Linked DNA regions of Homo sapiens: all the other regions are linked to region 1. Evidence: promoter capture Hi-C in 16 types of primary human blood cells and fetal thymus (Javierre and others, 2016). All regions are on one chromosome and are shown on one strand. The core of a region is centred on a gene start or on the middle of the fragment in contact, and the rest is flanking DNA. Distances in the headings are between cores, read along the strand shown.

Evidence for each region. The method cuts DNA at HindIII sites, captures the fragments that hold promoters and counts their contacts. A CHiCAGO score of 5 or more calls a contact.
Region 2: a contact is called between a fragment that was not itself captured here and the fragment with the promoter of PHLDA2 in region 1, in 4 of 17 cell types (total CD8 T cells, non-activated CD4 T cells, naive CD8 T cells and 1 more). The highest score is 6.7, in total CD8 T cells.
Region 3: a contact is called between a fragment that was not itself captured here and the fragment with the promoter of PHLDA2 in region 1, in 2 of 17 cell types (naive CD4 T cells and naive CD8 T cells). The highest score is 5.7, in naive CD4 T cells.

Annotation. Positions count from the first base shown.
Region 1 is chr11:2,928,170-2,931,936 of GRCh38, reverse strand. PHLDA2 (pleckstrin homology like domain family A member 2) reads left to right here and starts at 2,517. Exons shown (of 2, transcript NM_003311.4): 1 at 2,517-3,041; 2 at 3,270-3,664. The coding sequence starts at 2,573. The coding sequence ends at 3,031. RefSeq lists enhancers at 1,413-2,021, 2,022-2,631, 2,632-3,240. The HindIII fragment of the contact is 14,179 bases long and covers 1-3,767 here.
Region 2 is chr11:2,365,154-2,368,788 of GRCh38, reverse strand. The region is part of intron 1 of CD81-AS1 (CD81 antisense RNA 1); the gene reads left to right. Among named protein-coding and RNA genes, the nearest start is that of CD81, 10 kb to the left of the region's middle. The HindIII fragment of the contact is 225 bases long and covers 1,789-2,013 here.
Region 3 is chr11:2,295,934-2,298,433 of GRCh38, reverse strand. It overlaps C11orf21 (chromosome 11 open reading frame 21), which reads left to right. Exons shown (of 4, transcript NM_001329958.2): 4 at 513-2,500. Among named protein-coding and RNA genes, the nearest start is that of C11orf21, 4.7 kb to the left of the region's middle. The HindIII fragment of the contact is 2,527 bases long and covers 1-2,500 here.

The DNA of each region.
Region 1 (3,767 bases), core at 1,268-3,767:
TCTGAATCTCGGCTGCACACCCTGCCCCCTGGCCTCCCAGCTCCTGCCCCACCTGTCAGAGCATCACCCCTGGGTTGTAAGTCCTGCCCCCAGGGGAGTGAGTTTCCCAGCCTCCCTTGAGAGGGCCACTGGGGTACAGGCAAAGAGAGGAGCTGGGCGGGGCTGGGGGAGCACACCTCACCTGGCCTCACCTGGTTTCCAAACCCTCTTCCTCCCCCTCATTTCTCTCAGCCCCTTATCTGCTCCTGCCTGTTCTCTGTCCCTTCCCCAAGGCCCTCTCCATCCTGAACCAGTTTCCTCTTCTGTGGAACAGGGGCTGGAGTGCCCACTTTGGGGAGTTCTCTGGGTTAGGTGGAGGCTGGGCACAGTGGTGGCATACGGGCACCACTGGCCCTTCAAGGTCTCCTTGGAATCTTCGAGGGCACGCCCTCCCCACAGAGTCCTCCAAGCTGTCCTCCTGGCCTCCAGTACCCCCGACCCCTATCCCCATCCTCATGTACCTGCTGTGCCCCTGGGGTTTAGAGGGATTCCTCTCCCCTCCTCTGGGGTCCCAGCACCAGCCAGGCCTGCAGGCACACAGTAGGTGCTTAAGCAACCACGAGTGTCGGGGGATTTGCCTGGAGCCGAAGTTCCACTGGCTGGCCCCTCAATGGGGTAGGCAGGCTGGTGGGCCTGGAGGTGTTCCAGGCACCTGTGGGCTGGCGCAGTGACAGAGCGCTCTGCCCCCGGCCGCTTCTCCTGGTCTCCCACTGCCCAGAGGTGCCTCTTGCCCAGGTCCCACTGTCCGGCAGCCCAGGGCCCTCTGGAAGCAAAAGAAGGGACACCAGAGTCCGAATCCTTCCTGCAGCCTCTCCGGAACAATGCTCGAATCCCCTCTCCCCGCCAAAGGCTGACCTCCCCTCACCCACCCACCCTACCTGCTGCTCCCTCACCACAGGATCCCAGCCCTGCTGCAAGGACAGGTGTCAGGTAGGGGGCAGTGTTGACCCGCCGGCCCCAGGCAGGTGTCTCACTCCCAGGCCAGAACCCTGGCACAGCCCAACCCTGCCCTCTGCCGGCACTGCCCCTCCACACCACATCCCTGCCCACTGCCAGGTCCTCTGGCCACACCGGTGGGACCACCGGGCAGCTGCTACCTGCATGCCATTCACAGAACCGGGTCTGGGGCGCTCCTCTGAGCCGGACGTCTCTTTATCCTTTACAGTGACCCTGAAGGGCAGGTGGAGGTAGGGCTGGTCCCAGGTCTGGGTTTTACGCTCTGCTGCCACTGTCTTGACATTTTAAATACATTTTGAATCAGGGGACTCTCGTTTTCATTTTGCGTGAGCCCCGTCATTGAGGCCAATTCTGACCCCAGAGTTGGGACTTCCTGCTGTAACCACCCCAGGGCGCAGCTAGGGGGCAGGGGTGCGGGAAGGTGGGAGACGTGGAGTAGTAGCCGGGGTCTCTGGGGTCCTCTCGGCCGGCTCCACCCCCACCCCTGGGAACCCGGGAAGAGCCGGCTTTCGCTTCCTGTCTATTAAACCCTTTAAAGGAAGAGGGTAAATAAAACCGCCCGTCTGCCCAGCTGGAAAGCGATGACTCAGCCGCCCCCGCCGACCCTCGCCCCCAGGCTGATCCCAGAGAGCGGGCGTCGCGGCCCAGCCCGAACCCCTCAGCTCCTGGGACCTCTCTCCGGTCCGGGTCGTGGGGGCGCGGTCGGAGCAGTCCGTACCCCAGTTCGGGACACTACGAGGGCGCAGGGAGGAGAACGGGCTTCCTCTTCCCCTTCCATTTTCTGAGCTCTATGGGTTGCTGGTCTAGCCCTTTCCACGTGTTCCCTAATCCAGCAAAGGTTACTGTTCCCATTTCACAGAAGCGAAAACCGAGGCTAAGAGAGGTGGTCGTTCTTGGCGCAGCCCGTGGGTGGCAAGATAGGAGCTCGGTCCGCTAGGGCAGGGCCACTTTCGGAGAGGGTCTCTGGGCGGCCCTGGGAAAGGCCCCCGAACAGGACGGAACGGCCAGGGCTCGGGAGTAAGGAAGGGGGCCTCGACCCTCCTTCTGCCCCGGGAGCCCGAGAGCGGCAGGGCTGGACTTGGGGCGCCTGGAGGGTGAAGGTCTGGTCCCGGCTGTCTCCCCACGGTGGGCCGGCCCCGGGCCCGCGGGTGCTTCCCGGGGCTCCCCGGCGTGAGTCATCGCGGGCAGGGCTGGCTGCAGCGCATTCTTCCGCGGGGCCGGCCTGCGAGACGGTGCGGGCGAGCGCCCGGGCGGGGCGGGACCTCGAGTCACCCCACGGGGCCGGACAGCTGGGGCACGGGGGGCAAGAGGAGCGCGGGCTTCTGAGATGGGAGGGGACGGCCGGGGACCGACCAGAGCGCGGACGCGACGGTGCGGGCCCGGACGGCTGGGCTTGGGGAGGGTATGGCCCGGGGCGCGCGGGGCTCAGGCGGGCGGGGTGGCCCGAGGGCCGGGGCGGGGCGGGGAGGGGCGGGGCGGGGAGGGGCAGCTATAAAGGCCGCGCCGGGGCCACGAGGAGCAGAGCCGGCGCCGTCACCGCCCGCATTGCCGCTCCCAGTCCCGCGCTCGGCACGACATGAAATCCCCCGACGAGGTGCTACGCGAGGGCGAGTTGGAGAAGCGCAGCGACAGCCTCTTCCAGCTATGGAAGAAGAAGCGCGGGGTGCTCACCTCCGACCGCCTGAGCCTGTTCCCCGCCAGCCCCCGCGCGCGCCCCAAGGAGCTGCGCTTCCACTCCATCCTCAAGGTGGACTGCGTGGAGCGCACGGGCAAGTACGTGTACTTCACCATCGTCACCACCGACCACAAGGAGATCGACTTCCGCTGCGCGGGCGAGAGCTGCTGGAACGCGGCCATCGCGCTGGCGCTCATCGATTTCCAGAACCGCCGCGCCCTGCAGGACTTTCGCAGCCGCCAGGAACGCACCGCACCCGCCGCACCCGCCGAGGACGCCGTGGCTGCCGCGGCCGCCGCACCCTCCGAGCCCTCGGAGCCCTCCAGGCCATCCCCGCAGCCCAAACCCCGCACGCCATGAGCCCGCCGCGGTGAGTGACTGCCCGCGTCCCGGCGAGCCCTGCGCCCTAACAGCCGGGACCGGGGCCTTTGGGAAAAACCACTTCAACCCCAGACGGCGGGGCGGGGGCGCTGCACCTCCTTGGGGGACCCGGCGCCCCGCAATCGCGCTGGCCCCCTCGCGTCAGGGTCTCGGGGCCCCTCAGGCTGGACCCGGACCGGCCCTGGCACAGCTCTCTGACCCAGTCCTTTCCCCACAGGGCCATACGCTGGACGAGTCGGACCGAGGCTAGGACGTGGCCGGCGCTCTCCAGCCCTGCAGCAGAAGAACTTCCCGTGCGCGCGGATCCTCGCTCCGTTGCACGGGCGCCTTAAGTTATTGGACTATCTAATATCTATGTATTTATTTCGCTGGTTCTTTGTAGTCACATATTTTATAGTCTTAATATCTTGTTTTTGCATCACTGTGCCCATTGCAAATAAATCACTTGGCCAGTTTGCTTTTCTACCATCCGGCTGTGGCTCAGTGAGACTCCTGCTGGGAGGGTGGAGGCCCAGGAATGGGCGGGCAGGACACCCTCATCCAGTCCTGCGGGGCTGGTGTGAAAGGCGCTGGGAACCGGCTTTGAATGAATAAATGAATCGTGTCATCTGCTGGGCCTGGTCCACACCCTCTTTTCCAAGCAGCCTCCCCAGAGGCCAGGAAGTGCCCTGGGGCTTGACCCTGGCTACCTTCTGCTCCTTGGTGTGTCCTGAGG
Region 2 (3,635 bases), core at 652-3,151, 560 kb after region 1:
AGTGGTGCCCTCCCATGGAGATCTCGTCCCCTCAGAGGATCCCGGCCAGCACCTGCACAGCCTGGCGCACACACTGTTATCATCATGAGGACTCCTGGGTATGAGAAGGGCTGGTGAGGCTCTGATACCATCTCCTCCTCAGGATCCCTGGCAGGCAGCAGAATCCAGAAATCCGGGCTGAGCTGAGCAGGGGGAGTGTGGTTGGGGCCTCCCGGGTGGGCCCAGGAGGCTGGTGGCTATACTCTGTGACTCTGTGGGCCTGGCTTGAGGGGGAAGACAGTGAATAGTCTGCCTATTTACTGTCTCCAGCTGGGGCTCCCCTTTGCTGATGGGGTCCCCTCTCCAGGGTGTCTCCCCTCCACTGAGGGTCTCCTCTCCCTGGACCAAGTGACCCCTGTCTGCATTTGCAGGTTGGGGACAGGTGGGGCTGGCTGGCACCTGTCATTGATTTATTAATAAATCAATAATTTTGGGGGTGGCTGCCTGCTGGAGGTGGGATGGGTGGTGGAGGAGTCACCTTCACTCTTGTCTAAACCCATGAGTTTTTGTTCAACACTGGGATGGGGAAAGCAGCTTGTTAGGACCCTGTTCCCTGAGGAGGGATGGGTGAGGCTGTTGGGGTGAGGCTGTCTGTCAGCCGTGACCAGAGCTGGCTGAGCTACCCTAGGCTTCATGTCCCCAGGTGCAGCATAGCCATGGGACGCCCAGGGGCCTCTGATCCCCTTCCTACAAGCTGTGTGTAGTTTAAAGGGGCTGGGAGTGCAGAAGAGGACGCGGGCCTGCTTTTCCACACTGGCTCCGTTCCCTTCGTGCGGGTGCCAGCCAGGCCCGGCCTTTTCTGGCCAGGGTCACCGTGTCCTGGACCCAGCCCTGACCCCTCCATTCCCTACCGTGTTGTCACCATCCCCTGTGAGGAGGGACCCCTGAGGCCTCTTTCTCCCGCTCTAGAGGCTCTTCCGGACCCCTGATCCTCACAGCCTGGGCCTCCCCAGAGGCTTCTGGGGCCACTGGTTCCCCGTACAAGCTGATACCAGCCGTTAATGACATTGCCTTGTTTACTTCAGCATGAGCTGGGCCACAGAGGGGAAGCTGTGTTGCTGAAGGGGACTCTGAAGATTACCATTGGAGGGGCTGCCTGGCTGAGACCTGAATAAGTGAGCAGTGCCCAAGAACAGAAAGGGGAGGTTGTCAGATGCTGGCCAGCACTGCCTAGCCCCAACCTGCAGACACAGATAGGGCGGAGGGGTCACCCAACCCAGGAAGGGGAGCTCATCTATGGAGGGGAGCCCCCCTGGAGTAGGGACCCCATCAGAGGACCCCGTCAGCAGAGGGGAGCCCACCCGGAGAGGGGACCCTATCAACAGAGAGGAGACCTAGCTGGAGAGGGGACCCTGTCAGCAGAGAGCAGCCTCACCTGGAGAAGGGACTTCATCAGCCAAGGGAGCCCCAGATGGAAAGGAGACCCTGTCAGTGGAGAGGAGCCCCAGCTGAAGAGGGGACCCCATCAGTGGAGGGAGCCCAAGCTGAAGAGGGGACCACATCAGTGGAGGGAGCCCCAGCTGGAGAGGGGACCCCATCAGTGGAGAGAGCCACAGCTGTAGAGGGAACCCCATCAGTGGAGGGAGCCCCAGCTGGAGAGGGGACCCCATCAGCAGAGGGAAGCCACAGCTGGAGAGGGGAACCCATCAGCAGAGGGGAGCCCACAGGGGTATCCAGAGGGAAGGCCAGGTTGGGTATCCTGGGAGTGGGAAGTTGGGTCAGAGGTGAGGCTTTTGCAGCGAGCAAGCTTGTTTCAGGTTGGGAGTGCCCAGCGGGCAGTGGGGGTTGGTGGACGCAGCAGGGAGGAAGTTCCAGGGTCTTTGACAGCGGCTGCTCCCCACTGCAGAGCTGACAATCTCTTGAGGACTCCAAGAATGAACGGATGGCCAAGCCTGGGCCTCCAGTGGGAACAGCGCCACCGTGGAAGAGGAGGGAGGTTGTCCTCATGTAGGGGGCAGGCTGGAGAGACAAGCTTGGGGTGGATGATGGTTTGCTTCTTAGGTGAAGGAAAATGAAGAGCCACCTGCAGCCATCGCTCTGCTCTCCAAATCAATCCTGAATAACTGGGAGAGAAAAACTTAAAAATGAGACCAGTGAATGGAATGGGAGGTGGGATGGGGATGTGGCAGAAGAGGGGGCCGCCCCACTCCTGTTGGACGTGGGGGCACTGGGAGCCACATGCATGCCAGGGACGCCCAGCCCCTGGCCCTGGGCCAGCCTCACTGGCAGTGGCTGGGGACAGTGGGTCTCTGTGCCTCCTCCTCGTCTCTGCGGTCCCTGGCTGGGTGCCCACCCTCTCCCTCATCTCGCCGTCTGCCTTCCTTTCATTTCTTTTTGGCATGGTTCTCTCACTGTCCAGGAAGGAACTTGGCGTCTTGCACCCCAGGCGGGCAGAGCCAGGAGCCCAGCTGACCCAGAAGGGCTCGGGTGGAGTGGGTGGGTGGTGGGAAAGCAGCTGGAGCCCCCGAATGCAGAGCCTGCCCCGTCTGCCGTGCCTGGAGGGCACCCCTCACTCCTCAGGCTCTCCAGAAGGTCAGCTATGGGGGCAGGGTCTGGGCCCATTCTGGACCCTGCTGTATCCCAGGGACCATTTAAATGGGGGCCTGGCACAGACTAGGGGTTCAGTTGTTAAATGAATAAGCAAAGCTCAAAGCCCCCTATGTTCCTTGCCTGAGCCAAGAAGGAAGCCTGGGCCTGGCTTCTGAGTCCACCCACCCTCCTTGTGAGGTAGGAAGGCAGTGGCATTGCATAACTGACCACCTACAGGACCGGGCCACGCCGAGAGGGAGCAGGCGCCTTGATGCTCCTAGATCGTCGGCCAGACTCCCCCTCCCCAGTCCTTGGAGCCTCCTTGCTTCTTCAACCCCTGTCAGAGTCCGTGGGGCAAGGTGAGACTGGGAACACTGTCTCCTCCCCCAGACGTGGCTGATCTCAGCCTGGAGCCCCACCCCAGGGCTGCACAGGACCAGGGTCCAGATCATCAGCCCAGGATGCACGGTGGACTATGTGTGCCCAGCACTCGTGCACCGAGAGACCCGTCTTGTTTCCCATGAGCCCCTCGGTGCTGGGTGCCGGGTGAGAGCATAGCCCTGGTGATCCTGGTGGTCTTCTCCAGACTCTGATGTTTCCTTCCAGTCTCCCGGCCCTCCCCTCAATGTGCAGTGTGTGCGGGTTGAGGGGGCTGCTGTGGTCTGAATGTGTCCCCCATCTCTGTAATCATGATGGACTAACATCATTGTCGTGGGAGCGGGCTCTGACAGAAGGATGAGTTTGGTCCCCTTCTCTCTGGCTGTCTCTCTCTCCCTCTCTTTGCCCTTCTGTCATGGGATAAGGCAGCACAAAGACCCTTGCCAGAGGTGGCCTGTCGATCTCGGACCTCCCAGCCTCTAGGACCAGGGGCCAATAAGTTAGCCAGTCTGTGGTTTTCTGTTCTAACAGCACACGATGGACTAAGACCACAGGCCAAGTCTCCCCAGTGTATCACCATTAGGCCACACCCTGATACGGTTTGGATCTGTGTACCTGCCTAAATCTCATGTTGAATTGTAATCCCCAATGCTGGAGGTGGGGCCTGCTGGAGGTGATTGGCTCATGGG
Region 3 (2,500 bases), core at 1-2,500, 630 kb after region 1:
TGGTGGTCAGCGTGCTTTATTTAGCCCTTGATGAAGAGACTGTTTCATGACCAGCTGGGGCAGTGAGCTCCTGACACCTTTAAAGGTGCAGTGTTGCCTCTCTCAGGAACCTAGAAGTGAACGCCCATCCCCTTTCAGGCCAGACCCCGATGCTCAAGCGTCAGGGCCCAGGCCCATTGCCAGGCTGCCCTCTCTCTGGGACAGGTGCAGGGACCCTTGGGAGGGGCACAAGGTTGCAGAGGATCTTTGAGCAGCATGAGGAATATGGTGAGAGAAGGCTTTAGGAGGCGGGTTCAGTGTCAGTGTTCGCTATGGACAGAATCGTGTTCCTGCAAAATTCATAGGTTGAAGCCCTGCCCCGCAATGAGATAGTGTTAGGAAGTGGATCTCTGGGAGGTAATTAGGGACAGATGAGGACATGAAGGTCCCTGGTCCCATAGGATTAGTGCCCTTATACCAAGAGACATTTAGGAGCTCCCTCTTCTCTCTCTCTCTCCTTACATGCACTGAAGGACAGCTGTATGAAGACACAGAGAGAAGGCAGCCATCTGTAAGCCAGGAAGAGAGCCCTCACCAAGACTGGAATCAGCAGCACCTTGATATTGGACTTCCAGCCTCCAGAACTGCAAGAAATAAGCACCTGCTGTTTACATGCCCAGCCTGCAGTGCTTCCTTATGGCAGATTGGAGCTAACTGAGACAGCTCCCAGCACTCATTCATTCATTCATTCATTCACTCACCTCATGTCTACTAAACAGCTCTGGGCTGGCTCTGGGAAGCAGTGAGTCACACACACTGCCCCCAGCAACGTGTGAAATATGTTTAGAGACAGTGGGCTACAGCGGAAAGGGTAGATGCCCTGAGAACCCCAGCGGTGCTGGTCAGAAGCACAGGCCTTGTTGGGCTGAGGCTGGCATGGGGTGAACCTGGGGAGCCTCGGGGGCAGAGGTGATAGATGTGGGGTGTTTCAAGGCAGTGAGACAAAGAAGGGAGATGGGTGGTGCCCCCCAATGCCAGGCTTCACCAGCCTCCCAACACACGAGTGTTCACCCGCCTGGATGAGACACCTCTGTGGACTTGGGAGTGAAGGCAGTGAATTTGGGCAATGCTGGAGGCCGTGCAGGTGGGAGGTGGGACAGGGGCAAGAGGCCGGGGCCCAGGCAGGAGCTGACAGCCCACCAGTGGTGCTCCCCTGAGAAGCAACCTCAGTGGGTGGCTTGGGGTCTGCTGGGCTGTCCCCACACTGACACCCTGGCTGCAGGGCCCCCCTGTGTCCCCAGTGAGGGGTCTCGGGAGCTGTGTGTCCTACTCAGGGCCATCCCTGCAGCCCATGCTCTCTGGGTGACCAGTTGCCAGCAGTGTCCCCCCTGCCTTGGGCGGAGGCTGAGGACCCCAGGGTGGGAGGGAAGGTGCGGTGGGGGCTCAGCCAATGCTGCCCAGCCTGAGGGTCCCTCACATGTGGGCCGCACCCCTGCGTCAGCCGGAGTGATCTCTGCTTAGGGTGGTTTGAGGTGAGTTCTGATATCTCAAACACCAGCATCAGGGCCAGGGCAGACAAAATAAGAGTGAGCTGGTCAGGGGTGTCCCAGTTGGGAGCTCGCTCACAGTCTTTAAGGAGGCAGGGCACAGCCCAGTGGGGGTGGCCACGAGGCCCCGGGCCTGTGGCTGAGATGGCAACTGGCACCGGCAGTGATTGGAACAGTCCAGCCCATGGAGCCCTGTGGCCTTGGCCGGTGGCTCACGGTGCCACGGGAGCTGGAGCAATGGGTGGCCTCCCTTGCCTGGTGCCTGAGTGAAGGAGGACTGGGTGCCCCTGAGGAAGGACCTTGCCATACTCCTACAAATTTACATTATTCTTCTTTCCCCAGTCTCCCCTCAGGGACCTGCAGCCATTTGCTGGGGTGGCTAGTGGAAAGGGGGATCATCAGACTCAGGGGGATTACTGGACTCTAACTCTAACCTGACACCCACTCCTGGGGACACAAACACCCATCGGATCTAATAGTCAGAGGAGGGGCGTATGGAGGTCAGTGGGCTCACGGAGTTCTAGCTCAGGTCCAACCCTCGGTGGGTGCAGAGGTCACTTCCCTAGCCTCAGATGGGTGAGTAAACAGACGTATGTGGCAGCCAGCAGAGCCCCCACATTTGTTCCCTGACCTGAGGGTGGGGGCTACTATGCTGGGAAAGGCCAGGTGGAAGCCATTGGGGTGAACTCTGCCTAGGAAAATTGTCAGTCAAAAGCAACCTGCAGCCCTGGAGGGACTGCAAAGGTCAGTGCCGCCATCGAGGACTTGGAAGATGCAGGGTGGTGACCCCCACTGCAGCCTCGTTCCACTCGTCTAATTGGCTTGTGTGGAAGACAGGGGGGTCCCGGAGAAAGAAGGACAGTGAATCCTGGTAAACTTAACCAGGACTCCAATTGCAACTGCTGTTCCAGATATGACTACTGATCACTGGGGCAAATCAAAGCATCCCCGGACACCTGGTCTACAGCCATTGA